2 separate regions of the Homo sapiens genome follow, and region 2 is linked to region 1. Evidence: promoter capture Hi-C in 16 types of primary human blood cells and fetal thymus (Javierre and others, 2016). All regions are on one chromosome and are shown on one strand. The core of a region is centred on a gene start or on the middle of the fragment in contact, and the rest is flanking DNA. Distances in the headings are between cores, read along the strand shown.

Region 1 (4,411 bases), core at 628-3,127:
TAAGGCCATTTTGACCCTCCCTTTCCTGGGGCTGAGCATCAGTAACCCCCGCCCCCTCTCCCCAGCACTGAGCTCAGGAATGATCCTTTTCGGCCCCCTCCTGTGCAGACTCTCGGGCTCCCGCCAGTGACTCACTAAGGCTTGCCTGCCTGCCTGCGGCTGCAGGAATGGCGGTAGGCATTACTCCAGTTGGTTCAGGCCTGGGGCCCCCAGGCATAACCTTTAGAGCATCCAGTCTCTTGGGCTCCACTACCCTTCAGAGAAGGTCGCAGGGCCTGAACTTCCGGCACTCTAATTCACAGAATTCAAACATTCCAGGAAAGGGTATAAGGAGAAGAGAAGGGAGCCCTTAGGCCCTAATGTGGACCCGGGAGTGTGGCTTAACCTCTTCCAGGCAGTGGAATAAGCAGGCAAAGGGCACAGGAGGAAGGTCCTAGGGCTGGCAGACTACACTTCCATCACCCAAGCTGCTTATTACAGTTATTTCTGATTACCACCCCCCTTTCAAAAAGCTCTGGAATGCAATAAAAATAAGGACTGGGGGGTGGGGGTGGCGCAGGCTCATAAAATTAAGAAATCCTTCCATCTGAAATCGTGATTCCAGGCCCATGAAGTAACTCATTTCTGGCCTGGGTGCCTATAAGCAAGAAGCAGGGATGTCAGGATGCCTGAATTATCCAAATTATTTGGGTCAAATTAATTTAGACTGTTTGAGAAAAGGCATTAATTTGGTTTTAGATTTCCTGGATTAGCCCTGGTATTAATTTCACAGGGAGTACTTTAGAGGACTTTTCTAAACTGGAAAATAAAGCCTTTTCCTGTGGCTGTCAAGGTCTTCCAGAGGGGTGAGCGGTCTCTCAAGGTGGTGGACTCATCCCATCCCTCAGTCCCAAACAGGCTGGGAGAGGAGATGCAAAATGGAGGTAGAGCCTGGGGCAAAGCACCAAGTCCACAGGTATCGAGTGGTAGGTAGCGAAGGGCACCCGAGAACCAGAGGGGGGCCTTGGGCAAGAATGGAACATTTAGTTAAGGGGAAAGACCTTCAGTGAAAGCCAGGCAGCGTCCTCAGGTGAGCCCACAGCAGCAAACTGGGCTGGTGGAGTGAACGTAAAGGTAAGGGTTTCCAGTATGGAAAAGGTCAAGGCTTTAAGAAGGAAAAACCGGCCGGGGGAACTGACAGTGGTGAATAAGGGAAAGCTGGGGAGACAGAGCCTGCTTGGGGTTCAGGTGCAGAGTAATGAGAGGGTGGTAGGCTTTTCGCCTTGGGGAGGACATTGTGGGAAAAGATGGTGCCATGGGGGTGCGGGGGCTGTCACAGGTCTAAGGAAGAAGAGCCGCGGGGTGCCACTGAACTAAGAGGAGGGGGTGCCGCATGGCGTGAGACCTGTCACGGTGCAAGGCGGCGGCACAAAGGGGTGTCACTGTCCTACGAGACGGGGAAATTGTCCTTGCGCGGAGGGGTAGGGGGTTGGCACGATCCTAGGGAGGGGGCGCTGCGCAGCGTTCCTGCTCTGGGAGGATTCCAAGCGGTATCCCTCTCATGGGAGGCGCCAGGCGGGTCAGGTGGAGGGCACCGCTCCCCGCCAGCCCTGCAATCGCGCCCCGGGCGCCCCCGCCCCACCGTCAGCTAGCTCCCGGGTCCGAAGGCTGAAGCCACTCCCGGGTGTGGGCAGCTTTCCGCCAGCTCAGTGCAGGGCAGGACAAAGCTGCGCGGCGAGGCAGACGACCCGCAGCGTCCTCCTCCACGCCATAAGGCCAGATCCCCGGCTCACCTGGTGTCCTCGGCCCCCTGCTCTGCCGGCCCGGCCACTCTCCGGATCCCAAGATGTCCGCCCGCCCCCTGCTCGTCTGCCCGCTGCCTCGGCTTTCACCGCAGTGCCGCCGCCCCGCCCCGGCCCCGGCTGCGCGTGCGCGCCGGCGTCTAGCGCCGACTACAAATCCCGTCAGGCCTCGCGGCCTCCTTGCTTGCAATTTGAAGCGCTCTAGGTTTAGCAAAACTACAACTACCGACTGCCTTCGAGAAACCGCCCCCGCCTCAGGAAGGGGTAGGCGTGGCCTTAGTCGGCCCTACCAGAAATACACATTCCAGCATACACCGCTCCACCCGCCTCATTTTTTTTTTTTTTTTTTTTTTTTTTTTTTTTTTCACTGAGCGCTCTGGGAATTGTAGTCCCTGCACTTCCTCCTGTTCCTATTTGTGTTCTGGAGAGCTTTGGGATATTAATGCCATTTGTGGAAGCACATCTGTTAAGCCTTGGATTGCTGTAGGCCTTTTCTGTCTCCAGAGTCCCAGGACTGGCTGTCCTCACTTTACACACAAATAAATACAACTGGGCAGTAGAAGTGTTTGTGCTGAATTTACTGCTTTCTAACACTACCTCTGATTCTCTCAAGCTTTTCTCATATATTTGTTCCGGACATGAGCTTTTTCCAAGGGATCAAGACCCAAGGAGAGGAGCGGGGAGGAAGGAGGCGACTACTTGGAAGAAACTAAACCTTTTCACAAATAAGTCCATGACTGTACACTCTTCCCGGAGGTCAGCTACAGCTTTTCATGAACGAGCCGATGTTCTCCTTAGCTATACCTATGCGACTGTGTATGCCTTCTAGTGACAGGCATATATGTTGCTTAGAAGACGTTCGAAGAGTTGAATTTAGTTTGACATGGGATTTGAAATCCCCTCTTTGATAAACAGAATCTTTACATCCAAGCTGAGGAGACAGACCCAACCCTCACACATGAAAGGCCTGCTTGGTTCTTGCAGAGTCTTAAGAAAATCTGTTGGCTCTTCTCTTTCTGTAGGCAGAGATAAACTGCTGCCTTCCTTGGGCAGGACTACGCCTGTCATGGGAGGAAGGAAGGGCAAGAAAGGACAGATCTGGTTGCAAATGTTACAGTCCTTCCCAGCCTCCAGCCAGAAGCCACGATGTGGCAGGATGAAGATCTGACCTCTCTCACATCATAGTCACGGCCTGAAGTCATTAAGTGACTGAATACAGGCACTTCTAATTTTTGAACCAGCACTCAAGGCTTCACTTCTACCTTTGCAAAAGCTTTATCTTCCAAAAATACCCTAAACTGCTACCAATTTAGAGTAAATAATAATAATGATAAAATAATAATAATAATAGCTACCATTTATTGAGCACCTACTCTACTGTGTGCCAGGCACTGTGCTAGGCACTTTTCGTACAATATCTAATTTAAATCCTCACAACAACCCTGTGAGGTAGGTATTATTATCATCATTTTACATACGAGGGAACTGAGGCTCAGAGAGGTTAAATAACTCTATCACACAACCAAAAATAGTAGAGCTGGAATTCAAACCCAAAACCACCTAACTCCAAATCCCATGCTCCAATGAATTAAAGTAGAGAGGGGAGAGGGAGGGCCAAATTCAAGACAGAGTGTTGGAGTGAAATGGATATGATATGCTGATAAGATATGGGAAGAAGGAATGTAAGCTCATAAATGTTTCTAGCTGGTGAGCCTATGTAGATTGTGATGAAGTAACCAGGAGAGGAATTCAGGAGGAACATACTTGGTTGGGCAGATGAGTTGAGTCTATACGGAACTGTCCATAGAGATGTCCAGTAGGTAATACCAATACAGATCTAAAGTCTGGGGGAAGTTGGGGGTTGGAGCTATGTATTTGGGAATCACCAGCATATCAGCAGCAATTGAGGACATCAGGATGAATGACTCCATTTTGGGAGTAAATAGAAAGGAAAGAGAAGTGAATCAAAGATGGAACGATGGAAGCACTGATACTGACAGGCATGAGCAATCGTTGAGAAATTCTCAAGAGAGTCGGACAAGACAGAGTCAGAGAGAGAAGTACATGAAACAGCCCTGTAGTGGTGGCTAGAAGCCATGGACTGGGTTGGGAACAATTCTAGAGCTCCCAGAAGGCAGGCAAGATTGAGTCACACTTCCAACAAAGCCCTCTGCACACCAAAACCCCAGGAAGTATTGTTTTTCTTTGTTAGTTTGCTTTTGAGACAGAATCTCACTCTGTCACCCAGGCTGGAGTGCGATCTCAACTCACTGCAACCTCCGCTTGCTTCCTGGATTCAAGCGATTCTTGTGCCTCAGCCTCCTGAGTAGCTGAGATTACAGGCAGGTGCCAAAACACCCATCTAATTTTTGTATTTTTAGTAGAGACAGGGTTTTGCTATGTTGGCCAGGCTGGTCTCGAACTCCCGACCTCAAGTGATCCACCTGTCTCAGCCTCCCAAAGTGCTGGGATTACAGACGTGAGCCACCGCACCCGTCCAAGGAAGTATTGTTAATTGAAATAAATGCCAAAATGTTCCTACCTTGGTTTACCCCAAAACCTGGAGCTAAGAACTTCATCTCACTTTTGACACCCCAGCCCCCAAAATATGGAAGCCCAGGAGAGCCAGG
Region 2 (4,257 bases), core at 468-2,967, 270 kb after region 1:
ATGTTGGCCAGGCTCGTCTAGAACTCCTGACCTCAAGTGATCTGCCTGCCTCAGCCTCCCAAAGTGCTGGGATTACAGGCATGAGCCACCGCGTCCGGCCAATATTTATTTATTTTTGAGACAGAGTCTTGCTCTGTCACCCAGGCTAGAGTGCATTGGCACGATCACGGCTCACCACAGCCTCTATCTCCCAGCTCAATCGATCTTCCCACCTCACCCTCCCGAGTAGCTAGGACTACAGGCATGAGCCCCCATGCCTGGCTAATTTTCGTTGTTTTTGTTGTTGTTGTTGCTTTGTTTTTTTGCAGAGATGCAGTTTCACCATGTTGCCCAGGTTGGTCTCGAGCATAGTTGAAGATGATAGCTCTCTGGTGATCCAGCTTGAGATAGCTTTCCGAGCAGATTTTTGACGTGAGCTGGACAATAACATGAGGACACCTGCTCTTTGCCCAGGCTTGCTGTGTGCTGAGGGCTTTGTGCCCACGGTGTCATTCGGTACAATGGTGCTCTGTATTGTTGACGGAGCCTTGCAGATCCTAGATGACAGATGTTGAATTACTTACCTATCTTACTGTGTAACAAATTACCCCAAAACTTAGTGGCTTAGAACAACAGCATTTATCATTTCACAGTTTCTGAGGGTTAGGAAAATGGGTGTGGCTCAGCTGGATGCCTCTGACTCAAGGTCTCTCATGAGGTTACCATCAAGTTGTTGTTGGGGCTACAGTGTCACCTGAAGACTCCCCTAGGGGAGGCTCCACTTCAAGCTCACTTACATGGAGGTCTTCAGGACCCGGTTGCTCATGAACTGTTGGCTGGAGACCTTCAGTTCCTTGACACATGGGCCTCTGCATAGGGTAGCTCAAAACATGGCAGCTGAACCCCATCAGAGAGAGCAAGCAAGAGGGCACCCAAAATAGAAGCAATGGTCTTTTTGTAACCTAATCTTAGATGTGATATCCCATTGCTTTTGCCATATTCTTTTTTTTTGAGACAGAATCTCGCTCTGTCACCCCAGGCTGGAGTGCAGTGGTGCAATCTCAGCTCAGTGCAGCCTCTGCCTCCTGGGCTCAAGCAATTCTCCTGCCTCAGCCTCCCGAGTAGCTGTGATTACAGGCATGTGCCACCATGCCTGGCTAATTTTTGTATATTTTAGTAGAGATGGAGTTTACCATGTTGGCCAGGCTGGTCTTGAACTCCTGACCTCGAGTGATTGGCCTGCCTCAGCCTACCAAGGTGCTGGGATTACGGGTGTGAGCCACCGCACCCGGCCGCTTTTGCCATATTCTATTTGTTGGGTTTGTTGTTGTTGTTGTTGTTGGTTTGAGACAGTGTCTCCCTCTGTTGCCTGGGTTGGAGTGAAGGGACACAATAATAGCTCACTGCAGCCTCAACCTCCCAGGCTTGGGTGATCCTCCCACCTCAGCTGCCTGAGTAGCTGGAACTACAGGCACCACATTGTGCCACCACAATGGGCTAATTTTTAAATTTTTGGTAGAGATGGGGTTTCACCATGTTGCCTAGGTTGGTCTCAAATTCCTGGGCTCAAGTGATCCTCCCACCTTGGCCTTCCAGAGTGCTGGGATTCCATGCATGAGCCACTGCGTCTGGCCCATTTTCTATTTGTTAGAAGTGAGTTACTAAATCCATCCTATCCTCAAGGGGAGGGGATTACACAAAGGTGTGTATCCTGGGAGTCAAGGCTAACTGGGGTAACTATCGGGGAATCTGTCCCGATAGTCACGTAGGTTCTTTTCTGTTTTTCCTAAGCGTCGGCCAGCTTGAGAAATAAAGGGACGAGTACAAAAGAGAGAAATTTTAAAGCTGGGCGTCTGGGGGAGACATCACGTGTCGGTGGGTTCCGTGATGCCCCACAAGCCGCAAAAACCAGCAAGTTTTTATTAGGGATTTTCAAAAGGGGAGGGAATGTGCAAATAGGTGTGGGTCACAGACATCAAGTACTTTACAAGGTAATGGAATATCACAAGGCAAGTGGAGGCAGGGCAAGATCACAGGACCACAGGACTGGGGCAAAATTAAAATTGCTAATGAAGTTTCGGGCACCATGGTCATTGATAACATCTTATCAGGAGACAGGGTTTTGAGAGCAACTGGTCTGACCAAAAATTTATTAGGCGGGAATTTCCTCTTCCTAATAAGCCTGGGAGTGCTATGGGAGACTGGGGTCTATTTCACCCCTATAGCCTCGACCATAAGAGACAGGCACACCTAGGGGGGCCGTTTATAGGCCTATACCCCCAGGCGCGTATTCTCTTTCCCAGGGATCTTCCTTGCTGAGAAAAAGAATTCAGTGATATTTCTCCCATTTGCTTTTGAAAGAAGAGAAATATGGCTCTGTTCCACCCGGCTCATCGGTGGTCAGAGTTTAAGGTTATCTCTCGTATTCCCTGAACAATTGCTGTTATCCTGTTCTTTTTTCAAGGTGCCCAGATTTCATATCATTTAAACAGACATGCTCTACAATTTGTGCAGTTAATGCAATTATCACAAGGTTCTGAGGCAACATACATCCTCCTCAGCTGACAGGATTAAGAGATTAAAGTAAAGACAGGCATAGGAAATCACAAGGGTATTGACTGGGGAAGTGATAAGTGTCCATGAAATCTTTACAATTTATGTTTAGAGATTGCAGTAAAGACAGGCATAAGAAATTATAAAAGTATTAATTTGGGGAACTAATAAATGTCCGTGAAATCTTCACAATCCAGGTTCTTCTGCCATGGCTTCAGCCAGTCCCTCCGTTCGGGGTCCCTGACTTCCCGCAACAGGTAACATACCAACATGTGTAGGTGGTGAGGTTGCCATTTTAATGAAAATGAAACAGAGCGACTCATCTTGGTGCCCTGGTGCAGGGTGATGCCTCTGTACATAGAGGTGGTGGCGGGAGCCCTGAGACTTTCCTCGGAAAGGAGCTTTGGCTCTGCCCCGAGTACTGCCCTGGAGTACAGTGGTGTGATCTCAGCTCACTGCAGCCTCCACCTCCGGGGCTCAAGCAATTCTCCCACCTCATCCTCCCAAGTAGCTGGTATTACAGGCACGTGCCACCACGTCCAGCTAATTTTTATTATTTTTATTTTTTTTTTAATTTGTAGTAAAGACGGGGTTTCACCAGGTTGGCCAGGCTGGTCTTGAACTCCTGCCTCTGCCTCTCAAAGTGCTGGGATTACAGGCATAAGCCGCCATGCCCAGCCCCATTATTAACTTATTATTAATTTGCCCAGACTTGAGGTTCCTTCCTCCACAGATTTTTTTCTTCACAGAAGCCCTATCCTTCGGACGCTTTGTTGCTGTTTCTTTTCCATAGATAGAGAAACTTCAGCATAGGCAGCTTAAGAAACTGCCCAAACACAGCTAGTAAGTGACTTAGCTGAGTTTCAAATGCATGTCCCTCTGACTCTAAAGTGTTTTCTTTTCCTACCATATGCCCTGCTGTTTGTATTTATACGAAAATGCCACTCTAGGTAAGTGAACCAATGTGTTCAATGGAGATGTTTTACACTGTCATTCTGTCCTTGGCAGAAATTGGCCAGCAAGTTTACAGGTTTGTCAAGAGTCTCTGGGAAAGTGGATAGGACCAGGGCATCAGGTCATCTTGCTGCTGGCGTGGCAGAAGGACCCAGGCCCAGGTTGTCTAGAAGCTGTGCCAACTTAAGTTAAAAAGAGGGGGCCAGGGTACTGCTCTGTGTTATGCCGTTTGGGATTAGAAATTTCCTTATTAAGAGCTCATTCCTGCCAATTTGATTCTAGGACTTGTTCTGTGATAAAGGCTCCAGGGGCCCATTAACGAGCTGAAATCAATATTGAGCTTTTACAACTTGGACGAGAGATGTCTGCTGAAAGTGGAATCAAAGCTTGACAGTAGATCATTAAATGTTACAGATATTCCTAAACTGTTCCTAACCATTTCATCAGCTGAGTGATCGTGACAACAGCAATAGTCCCTGATACGACGGTTGCACTTCCAGCCTGTCTCTCTTCTCAGACATTCTATTTGATTGCGAATTCCAAATTGCCATTTACTGGGCAGAAGCTGGCACAGCGACCCCAGGAGGTACCCAGCAGGTAGATGGTTCTACAGTCTGGGGAAGTGGAGGGCGGTTGTTGCGGGGGGCGGGGCGCTGTCCTTTTTGCATACTGGATAGGCTGTGCTCTGAACCTGTTCCATGAGCTGAGAACCTCCTTTGCAAGGAGGCCAGAACATCACCCAAAAAAGGACACAAATAATTCTGGAGGGAA

The links. Contacts are between HindIII fragments. The CHiCAGO score rates a contact against its expected background, and 5 or more counts as called.
Region 2: a contact is called between a fragment that was not itself captured here and the fragment with the promoter of AP2M1 in region 1, in 8 of 17 cell types (M2 macrophages, endothelial precursors, M0 macrophages and 5 more). The highest score is 12.2, in M2 macrophages.

What each region holds. Positions count from the first base shown.
Region 1 is chr3:184,172,321-184,176,731 of GRCh38, reverse strand. AP2M1 (adaptor related protein complex 2 subunit mu 1) reads right to left here and starts at 1,877. Exons shown (of 12, transcript NM_004068.4): 1 at 1,773-1,877. It overlaps DVL3 (dishevelled segment polarity protein 3), which reads right to left. Exons shown (of 15, transcript NM_004423.4): 15 at 3,118-4,411. RefSeq lists enhancers at 1-227, 1,760-1,829 and a silencer at 1,500-1,549. The HindIII fragment of the contact is 5,273 bases long and covers 1-2,396 here.
Region 2 is chr3:183,897,947-183,902,203 of GRCh38, reverse strand. It overlaps the pseudogene CYP2AB1P. Among named protein-coding and RNA genes, the nearest start is that of MIR4448, 13 kb to the right of the region's middle. The HindIII fragment of the contact is 4,315 bases long and covers 1-3,874 here.